2 separate regions of the Homo sapiens genome follow, and region 2 is linked to region 1. The links are contacts of gene promoters, found by promoter capture Hi-C in human tissues and cell types (Jung and others, 2019). All regions are on one chromosome and are shown on one strand. Each heading gives the region's core, a stretch centred on a gene start or on the middle of the fragment in contact. The rest is flanking DNA. Distances are from core to core; before and after follow the strand shown. Region 1 holds the start of SRGN (serglycin). Region 2 overlaps TSPAN15 (tetraspanin 15).

Evidence for each region. The method cuts DNA at HindIII sites, captures the fragments that hold promoters and counts their contacts. A contact is called where the count stands out against the background at its distance.
Region 2: a fragment that was not itself captured here is called in contact with the fragment with the promoter of SRGN in region 1 in 1 of the 25 tissues and cell types used here (liver).

The regions. Positions count from the first base shown.
Region 1 is chr10:69,085,484-69,090,868 of GRCh38, reverse strand. SRGN (serglycin) reads right to left here and starts at 2,766. Exons shown (of 3, transcript NM_002727.4): 1 at 2,633-2,766. The coding sequence starts at 2,711. RefSeq lists a silencer at 558-737 and enhancers at 1,436-2,635, 4,283-4,452. The HindIII fragment of the contact is 28,080 bases long and covers 1-5,385 here.
Region 2 is chr10:69,487,295-69,492,679 of GRCh38, reverse strand. All of the region lies in intron 3 of TSPAN15 (tetraspanin 15), which reads right to left. Among named protein-coding and RNA genes, the nearest start is that of TSPAN15, 39 kb to the right of the region's middle. RefSeq lists a silencer at 3,521-3,721. The HindIII fragment of the contact is 4,239 bases long and covers 177-4,415 here.

The sequences.
Region 1 (5,385 bases), core at 1,517-4,016:
ATCCCCTGGAGCCCTACATTAAATAGATTAGTCATCTGTGCTCTCCAGAGTTACACATCCCCAAATTTCCATTTCTTTGTGCTTGGTAAACACAATCTTACCCCACATCTTTACTTGGGTTTGACTTATAATAAAAATATACCACCACCAAATTCATATGTTCCAGTTCTAACCCACAGAATCTCACAATGTGAAATTGTTCAGAAATAGGGTCATTGCAGATATAGGTAGTTAAGATGAGGCCATTAGGGTGGCCCTGATCCAATGCCTGGTGACCCTCTAAGAAGATGGTATTAAGACACGGATGCATGGAGGAAAGGCCATGTGCAGACAAGGGAGAAGGCGCCATCTATAAGCCAAGGAGAGAGGCCTCAGAATGCGATCGACCCTGCCAGCACCTTGATCTTGGACTCCCATCTCCAGAACTGTGAGGAAATACATTTCTGTTATTTAAGCCACTCAGTCCGTGGTACTTTGTTATGGCAACCCGAGCAAACCACTATAGTGACCTGAAATGGTTTTGAATATGCTCAGTAAAAGCAAGCCAAAAGCCTAGTTGATTTCATCTGCCAAACCAACGGGCTAGATAAACACTTTTTATAAGACAGGAAGAATGTTGTCGAATCATATCTGGCATTGCGTGGAGGTGTGAGGAAATGGTGTCACGACTCTTCACATCACAGCCTTGTGCCGCAGTCACTCACATGTGCAGCCAGTGGGGGACATCTATTTCCCTGCATGCTCAGATGTGGGCACAAGCCCTTGAGCCCGATACTGAGAGCCTTTTTTCGGAAACACCCTAGTTTGTCAGTTTCTCCCTTGTCTCTTTCTATGGTTTCCTTTTCTAACAAAGAGCTAAACCTACGAGGTCATGACATAAATGCTAGTATTCTATACAATTTCATGATGAATTATTTTCTTTCCTTCTCTTTCTTTCTTTCCTTTCTTTCTCTCTCTCTCTCTTTCTTTCTTTCTGACAGAGTCTTGCACTGTCACCTAGGCTGTAGTACAGTGGTGCAATCTCAGCTCACTGCAACCTCCACCTCCCAGGTTCAAGCAATTCTCCTGCCTCAGCCTCCTGAGTAGCTGGGATGACAGGTGTGTGCCACCATGCCCGGCTAATTTTTTTGTATTTTTGGTAGAGACGGGATTTCACTATGTTGGCCAGGCTGGTCTCAAACTCCTGACCTCATGATCTGCCTACCTTGGCCTCTCAAAGTGCTGGGATTACAGGCGTGAGCCACCATGCCCGGCCTTCTTCATTTCTTTCTAATGAATATTATACAAGGAACGTTTTTGTTTTCATTCTAGTTTTCCTTAATGAATCTTAGTGGGAAATTCATGTTTCTGGGAAATTTTGACAACATAAAGACTTACATATCTCTGGTTGGGGTATGCCCAGCACCATCTGGCCATTCAAGACTGTACTAAAGTATGGGCCTCATTACTCTCGATCTTGTCAGACCACTTGGCTATTCGGGAATTATTTCATCAAGCTGAAGATATTCCCTAAAAGATCCCAGTGAAGCCTGTTCCCTACAATTGACAATGTTTTATATTTTAAAAATACATAAATTAATAACGTTCCAGAAACATTACTTGCTCTTTTTTCAGCATTAGCATAACTAGAAGAAAATGATTTTATAAATTTCCAACATAAAATGAATGTCTCTGCGATCATCTGTAAGATTTCATCTCCACCGGAAGTAAGATCATGACAACCAAAAGTCGCTTTGACGAAACAAATCTAGGACATGTGTGTCATTGTGACTCAACATTTCCCTTACCATTTGGCGGAACCTAGTGTTTTTCTACTATAGGTTCAGCCATCTCTCTATCAAGCCATGACCTCCGTCTTATTTAGACATGATTCCTTATTTGCCAAAGAATAACAAATTGTATTTTTCTTACAAGCCTATCATTTTCATTGTCTTAGTCATTACAGGTTTTAAGTTGTTTCAGTCTGACTAAACAACACTAAATGGTAGATAAACCTAGGAAGATATTTCCGAATATGATGCTTCTCTGAGCAAGAGCACAAATACCAAATTATTTGGCCTTCTCTTTAAAATCTGAGAGGTTTTACATGAACTATGTCTAACCATAATTGAGTTTTCAGTAAGAACCAAGTTTATCTTTAAAAAAAAAAAAAAGAAAAGAAAATACACACAGTCAGATTCACCCCAATTGGAATATAACGTCTCCCAGTGTTAAAATAACAATGACACCGTCACAGCGCACTAAAACTTGGGGCTGATGTAGACACTTAGGGGTAGGCAGACACCCCCCAACAGTCAAAGGTGCCATCTCCTCCATGCAACAGGCACAGGAGTCATTTTCTAGATTCCTTTTTTGAGCTTTTAAAATTTATAAACCTCACATTTTCATCCCAAAATAGCACATTTCAATCATTGTAAGAGTTTACAAGACTGCACACGCCACAGAGTTTAATTTTTCTTGGTACCAAACTTAACAGAACTCATATTAAAGGGTTCAGCGACCCCAAATCCTTCTTCTTTGCCTCCTTTCTCACAATATTATACATTCTATGCCTTAAAATGAATATAATGACTTGCATGGACCACAGGGCTTACAGAGAAGATGGCTGGGGAACAAGACTCCTGAGTCTTACCTTGAACTGAGGATTCCAGAACCAGGATGAGGGCAAGAGCCAGGACAAGCCGACTGCATTTGAGTAGCTTCTGCATCATGACCAACTTAGTCTAGCTCTCCCAGCTGCACGCCAACTTCTTGATTAGGAAATGTAGCAGGGTGCTCTCTGTCCCTTTTAGAAAATGTTCCAAAACCTCAAACCCTGCCCAGAACACACGTCACAATTTCCTGAACAAATAGAAAGACATCCACATCAAAACCCAGAAAGAAAGGGGGTGGGGGGAACACAGTAAAATAACTATTCATACCCATTATGAAACTGTACTGGACTCCCCCCAGGCCTGCTTTTTCAAAAGTTTTGTTGTTTGCCACTTGCCTGCAAGACATTTTTTTTTCCCACCGAAACAGTAGAATCAGCATTTGGGACAGTTTGTTTTTCCTTTCTTCAGGTAACAATCTAAACACTAGATTGCTAATATTAAGAATCTGCTGCATTTTTTATGAGATAAGGGATCTAGGTGCTGCCTTTTCGTCACCAAGCACTTTCAACATAAAACATTCTCTTCATTTTCTTTTTCACCGGGGAGTAACATACCTCACTGAGCCAAGCTCGTGAAGTGAAACTTCAAAGCTGAGCTCTAACCTTCAAGAATGAGTTGTCGGATTTCAGATGAACAGTTTCTTCTTCTTCTTTTTCTTCTTTTTTTTTTTTTTTTTTTTTTTTTTGAGATGGAGTCTCACTCTGTCACCCAGGCTGGAGAGCAGTGGCGCGATCTCAGCTCACTGCAACCTCCATCTCCAGGGTTCAAGCAATTCTCCTGCCTCAGCCTCCTGAGTAGCTGGGATTACAGGCGTACACCACTGCGCTGGACTAATTTTGTATTTTTAGTAGAGACGACGTGTCACCATGTTGGCCAGGCTGGCCTCAAACTCCCAACCTCAGGCCATCCGCCTGCCTCAGCCTCCCAAAGTGCTGGGATTACAGGCGTGAGCCACCGTGCCCAGCAAACAGTTTCTTCTTAAACTCAGTTTCTTGCATTGGATCATTGGCTCTCTCTCTATCTCAAGAACATAGGATTTTCAGTTACAAAGACTGTGGTAAAACAGAAAAACTATTTTGCATTCCCCTCTCCTTCACATTGAGCATTTCTTAAGATGGATTCCATTTCTATTTTTATCTGTTCTCCTAGTCAAAATTTTCAACTCGAGTTTTGGGTCCTCTGGCCTTGAATAAGCCAGAAATCAGGAACGAGGGAGAGGTTGTCCTCACAGTGAGCTGCTGGACCTCAGCAAACAACACAAACCTCTGCCTCATGTAAATAAAGGAACAGCATTTTCCCTGGGCATGGTGCAGATTTCTGGAGGACTAAGGCTCCATATTAAAGTTATACAATAAAGGCCAGGTGCTGTGGTCCACACCTGTAATCCCAGCACTTTGGGAGGCTGAGGTGGGTGGATCACAAGGTCAGGAGATCGAGACCATCCTGGCTAACACCGTGAAACCCCGTCTCCACTAAAAATACAAAAAATTAGCCGGGCGTGGTGGCGAGTGCCTGTAGTCCCAGCTACTCGGGAGGCTGGGGTAGGAGAATCGCTTGAACCCGGGAGGCAGAGGTTGCAGTGAGCCAAGATCGTGCCATTGCACTCCAGCCTGGGTGACAGAGAGAGACTCTATTTCAAAAAACTAAAAATAATAAAATAAAATAAAATAAAGTTATACAATAAATACAAGCCTATCATACATCCTTGCCCTTGTGGCATATACATTTTCCTTACTTCCTTTCAAGATTCAACCACTCTCCATTTCAACATGTCTATCCCTACCGCTCCCCCAGACGGCTTAATGCACGTGCCCCACTTTCCATTCTCATCCTCGCCCTTGCCTGGCCTTTGATAGGAGGGAGGAGTTTCCCTTCCCTTGTTTTAGGCTTCCTGCTGATTCCTTTACCATTTCCTGCTAAGGACAGAGTCTCACAGTCTAATAGCCGTGGTGCAAGAACACAAAGAGTGTACATTTTGGCCCTCCTCAGAAGCCCCTCACATCAGCCAGAAGTGTGTCCTCCAACTCAGGGGCGTCTCCAAGCACAGTAACCAACCCCAAAATGCACTGGCCCGGAAAGTTTTCCACTGAGAAATGTCGGTTTCTGTTTGAAATATCAGATGTCATCTTTGGTCCTTTTAAATCTAACTCCCAATTGAAAACCCTGGCACCAAAACAATAGTTCCTATCAATAGCTTCGATGAGTTTCCTGCAAATCCCCAGAGCTGATTAGGGCTGTGTTTTAAAATGGTAATTTTAGGGGCTTTTTCCATTTGGGAACTTCATTTTTTTTCTTTCTTTCTCTGGGTCATGGTGTTGTTGTTGTTTTTTACCTCTCTCTCTCTGTCGCCCAGGGTGTACCTCCACCTCCTGGGTTCAAGCAAACGCATTTGACTAATTTTTTTTCTTTCTTTCTTTTCTTTTCTTTTCTTTTCTTTTTTTTAGTACAGATGGGGTTTTTGTCATGTTGGCCAAGCTGCCCTCGAACTCCTGACCTCAAGTGATCCACCTGTCTCGGCCTCCCAAAGTGCTGGGATTACAGACGTAAGCCACAACGCCCAGCTCATGGTGACTTTTAAAGCACAGGTGCAGTATTCATAAGCATTTGCTCTTCTCCCACTACGCTGATAATCAAGTCTCTTTTTCTAAGAAGTCCTCCAGTCTCATTTAGCCCTCTTCAAGCTGTAGGGGAGCAGGACACATGCTGCAGCAGCTGGAAGTCCTGGGTCCAA
Region 2 (5,385 bases), core at 1,047-3,546, 400 kb before region 1:
GCCTCCCCAAACCATCCCGCCTCCCCAAACCATCCCGCCTCCTGGGCACTTTCCAAGGCTCGGGCTTCGAGAGGGGCCTGGAAAAATTCGGCCTTTCATCTGGTAAGCTGAGCCCTGTTGTTGGGGGAAGGGGGGCCCTGCAGGAGCAACAGATGTCCCTGGGCTTCATGGACAGCAGCTGCCCCCAACCCCCATCAGGGAGCTCTTTGAGGCATGCTGGTTCTTGCAAGTGTGCACCACTTGTATGTGTGTGCACGTGTGTATGTGTACCGGGGAGACGAGGACACTGAGATGGTTCCTGTGCTGTGAGGGGCGATGGTTGGGGGTGGGTGTGTGTGAGAAGATCCCGTGAGGCAAGCTGGCTGTGCAGTTTAACTGTAAAGTGCTATGCCGCCGTTGACAGCACTGGTAATGTTCCGAGAGACCAGGGGAGCCACTCAGAGGACAGGGAAGAGAGAATTCTAGCTTCCTCTGCCATTCCCAGATGCCCAACATACCCAGTGCCACTGCCCCCACCCCATTCCCCTCCAAACCAGGCCATGCCAGCAGGGGCAGCTCCAGTGAGGACTAGAAAACCAGGCTAAATTAAGCAAAGAGTAAGCAAACATCAAAAGCCACAAGGTTTGAAAGCATGTTGTTTAAAGCACCAGAGAAAGCTATGAAGAACTATCCTTTCTAGCTTTGCCTTTTAAATCTAGTTTTTATCTGAAGCCTCCACATCACCCCTCTCTCAGGGTTTTTAAATGAATGAGGAACTGAAGGGGGTGAGGCATGTGGCGGCAGCTCCTCCAACACAGAGGACAGAGGGGTAGGAAAAGGAGTGGAAGGGGCGGCCGCTAAAGCTTCCTACCAGGCCAGCTGCCTGCACAGGACCAAGAACCTCTCTGGGGAAGGAGTGGCCCGGGGCTCCCTCAGGCTGCCTCTGGCTAACACCACTTCCATGTAAGCCTGAGACCTGAGGCTGGGAAGGCCCTGCTGCTGGCCTAGTGCAGGCCTAGCTCTCAAACTTGGAGGAGAAGCTGGTCATGGTGGTCCCTGCCTATAATCCCAGTACTTTGGGATGCCAAGGCAGGAGGATTACTTGAGTCCAGGAGTTCGAGACCAACCTGGGCAACATGGCTTGACCTCATCTACACACAAACACACACAATTATCCAGGCATGGTGGCATGCACCTGTAGTCCCAACTACTCAGGAGGCTAAGGTGGGAGGATCGCTTGAGCCTAGGAGCTGAGGCTGCAATGAGCTGTGATTGCACCACTGCACTCCGGCCTGGGTGACAGAGCAAGACTGTCTCAAAAACAAAACAAAAACTTGGAGGAGAGGTGCTTGGCCCAGGATTTTCCTCCTTCATTTGCGCCTGGAGCCAAGCCATCATCTCAGCCTTTCCCAGTCCCTCTAGAACGGGGACTTACCCTCATTGCCCCCGGACCCTAGCCTCTGCTCCAGTCCCAATAGAAGCCCAATGTGACAATCAGGAATGGAAGAGAACCCAGGGGACCAGGAGAAGGTGGGAAGGGGCGTGTGGAGTGAGCATCTGCCAGACCCTTCCTCAGACCTGGCCAGGGTCACAGGTTCATCTCCATGGTGGGAGAGGGTTATGTTTCAGTGTCCTTGGGACTGGGGGCTCCAGCCTCACTCCCTGACAGCTTTCCACAGTGGGGCACACCCGTGGGGGAGTCTGGCCAAACCAGCGAGAAGCACTCTCTACTTCTGTAAGGCCGACCGCTCTGCTGTAAGTGGGAAGGATACACAGCCGGCCCTCCACATCCACGGGTTCCGTACCCGCAGATTCAAACAACAGTGGATGGAAAATATTTGGGAAAAGGAACAATAAAAAATAACACAACAGTAAAAAATGATACAAACTAAAGAACAATACAGCATAAACAACTATCTACACAGCATTTACAATGTATTAGGTATCTGGGTTTTTTGTTTTGTTTTGTTTTGTTTGAGACAGAATCTTGCTCTGTCACCCAGGCTGGATGGAGTGCAGTAGCACGATCATGGCTCACTGCAGCCTCTGCCTCCTGGGTTGAAGCAATTCTCCTGCCTCAGCCTCCCTAGTAGCTGGGATTACAGATGCCCACTACCACGCCTAGCTACTTTTTGTATTTTTACTAGAGACAGGATTTCACTGTGTTGGCCAGGCTGTTCTCAAACTCCTGACCTCAAATGATCCACCTGCCTTGGCCTCCCAAAGTGCTGGGATTACAAGCATGAGCCACCGCACCTGGCCCTGTATTAGGTATTTGCAAGTAATCTAGGAGTGTTGCAATTTACAGGAGGATGTGTGTAGGTTATATTCAAGTACTACACCATTTTATATAAAGGACTTGAGCATGTGTGGATTTGGGTATCCTTTGGTCAGGGGCATGTTCTGGAACCAATCCCCGTCGGACACCAAGGGAAAACTTTATATATTCAGGTGTTGGCCGAGAGAGCCATGGTGCTGCCTACTTTCTCCTGCCTCTGACCTCAAGGTTGTGCCCAGAGCCAGCTTGTGCCAGTGCCATGATAAAATAGGCAGGCTGGTGCTCCCCACTGTTCCCTGACCACAGTGTCAGGTAGGACCACAATGCCCACTGATCCTACCCTGGTGGTAGAGAGAGGAGGCCTGGGATGGGGGTATAGACACACCCGCTACTGCCCGGACCCTCCAGGTGTCCAAGCTCAGCTGCACCTGGCTGGAAGCATGAGGAGCTGCCCACCTCTGACACCTGACACCCTCACAAGAAGCCCCAGAACAAGCTGGGACAAAAGCAGGTGTCAAGAGGGTTGAGACCCACACAACTGGGGAAGTCACTCAGGTCCTCCTCCAGCCCCTGGCTGGGGTCAGGGGTGTCGTACTTCTCCTGCTCCTAAGGGCTGCTCTGTGCCCAGCTCCCCAGTGCATGGCCACTTGCCCCTCTATGAGTGGAGAAGCGGCACCAGTCCGACTGTCAGGCCATGCCTAGCAGCAGAAATCTTGCCTGGGGTCAGAGCCAGGGGGAGTTTCCTCCTTATATCCAGGAGTCTGTTTAGCTTTCAATGCCTGGCTGTGGCCGTGGTCTGTGCACCTCGCTGAGAACCCAACATGTAATCCTTAGCCTAATTGTTGCGGGAAGTCAGGGACCCCAAATGGAGGGACCAGCTGCAGCCACAGCAGAGGAACATAAATTGTGACGATTTCATGGACATTTACCAGTTCCCAAATAATACTTCATAATTTCTTACACCTGTCTTACTTTAATCTCTTAATCCTGTTATCTTCGTAAGCTGGGGATGTATGTCACCTTACGGCCACTACGATAATTGTGTTAACTGTACAAGTTGATTTTAAAACATGTGTGTTTGAACAATATGAAATCAGTGCACCTTGAAAAAGAACAGAATAACAGCGATTTTCAGGGAACAAGGGAAGACAACCATAAGGTCTGACTGCCTGCGGGGTTGGGCAAAAAGAGCCATATTTTTCTTCTTGCAGACAGCCTATAAACGGACATGCAAGTAGGGAAGATATCGCTAAATTCTTTTCCTAGCAAGGAATATTGATATTAACACTCTGGGAAAAGAACTGCATTCCTAGGGGGAGGTCTATAAACGGCCGCTCTGGGAGTGTCTCTCTTATGCAGTTGAGATAAGGACTGAAATACACCCTGGTCTCCTGCAGTACCCTCAGGATTGGGAAACTCCACCCTGGTAAATTTGAGTTCAGACTGGTTCTCTGCTCTCGAACCCTGTTTTCTGTTGTTTAAGATGTTTATCAAGACAATATGTGCACCACTGAAGGTAGACCCTTATCAGTAATTCTGCTTTTGCCCTTTGCCTTGTGATCTTTGCTTTTGCCCTTTGCCTTGTGATCTTTGTTGGACCCTTATGAGGAGTTTCTGATTTTTCCCTTAGAAGCATGTGATCTTTGTTTTCCTTTTTGCCCTTTGAAGCATGTGATCTTTGTGACCTACTCCCTGTTCTTGCACCCCCTCCCCTTTTGAAATCCTTAATAAAACTTGCTGGCTTTAAGGCTCAGGTGGGCATCATGGTCCTACTGATAATGTGACGTCACCCCCAGCGGCCCAGCTGTAAAATTCCTCTCTTTGTACTCTTTCTCTTTATTTCTCAGCTGGCTGACACTTATGGAAAATAGAAAGAACCTATGGTGAAATATTGGGGGTGGGTTCCCCCAATACCTAATGACTTGTTCTGACTTTTCATAAGTAGATACTCAGAGTTACCAGGGCCCATGGCACTGGAGACTGAACTTGTTACATTGTGGCTCAGAGAAATCCTCTTGATCAGGGAAAAATGGAATTGGGAAATCACCTCCTCCTGGAAGCTGACCTTGATTGCTCCTCACCTTTTTCTCCATCATACACTGCCCTTCCTACCATCATCAACAGCCAGGCCGCTCCTCCCCCATCCCCGCCACTGGCCTGACTCCTGTTTTACAAAATCATATCACATTAGAGTTGGAAGGGATATTATTTTTCTTTTTGTGATATTTTCCCCTTGATTATAAAAAAAAATTGAGAGCCAAGGAAAAATATAAAGGGGAGGAGAAAAATCACCCTAGTCTCATCCCTCAGAGGAAATATGAGTTCATATGCTGATATTTCCATTCCTTTAAGTCTTTTTGTAGACCTATTTTTTTCATTGTAGCGATCTTACTGCATTTATAATTTTGTATCTCATTTTTTAAGTTTTCAAGATGACGAATCATGGCTTGAGCCTCCAAACAGCGGAGAGGCGTCAGTGAGGACCCTTCCTGGGCTGCATACCAAGGCCCTACCCATGAGGGGACACCACCCAAGGGGAAGGAGCACCCTTCACGGACTACAGCATCTGCAGGGTCTGGGGATGATGAGAAATTGTCAGGCCTGACCTCAGGCCCACGGAAACCCAAGCTGTGAGCACTGAAGGGCCCCTGGATGTTCCGCCAGCCAAAGCCTTCATCTCAGCCCAGCTCCATCACTTGAAAGAAGGAGGTGATGTTCTGTTGACCTACAGGGCACTGGAAAATGACAAATCAGATGGCCTCTGCAGCAATGCACTAGAAACCAGAACTGCTGCCCATCATTGGAGGATAGTTTATGAAGGCCGTGGACGCTGCTGACCACAAACTGGACCTGGGCTCCAGCCAGGAAAGTGCTAACCCTGGAAAGCCTCAGGGCGGCCGGGAGCTCTGCTGGCTGCACAGAGAGGCAGCCCCATGGGCAAATGGAATAAAGATCTCTCCCCTCACAGCTGCTGAAAAGTAAACCAGCATCCTGGATCTGCCAGCTCAGAAGAGAGGCTCTGACAAATAGAAAAGAGGGACAGGGAGGGGCAGGTAGCAAGTCAGGACTGGGAAGCATTCCTGAGGCACCTCTGCCTTGCTGTGTGCTCTCGGGGGAATTCTTAACTC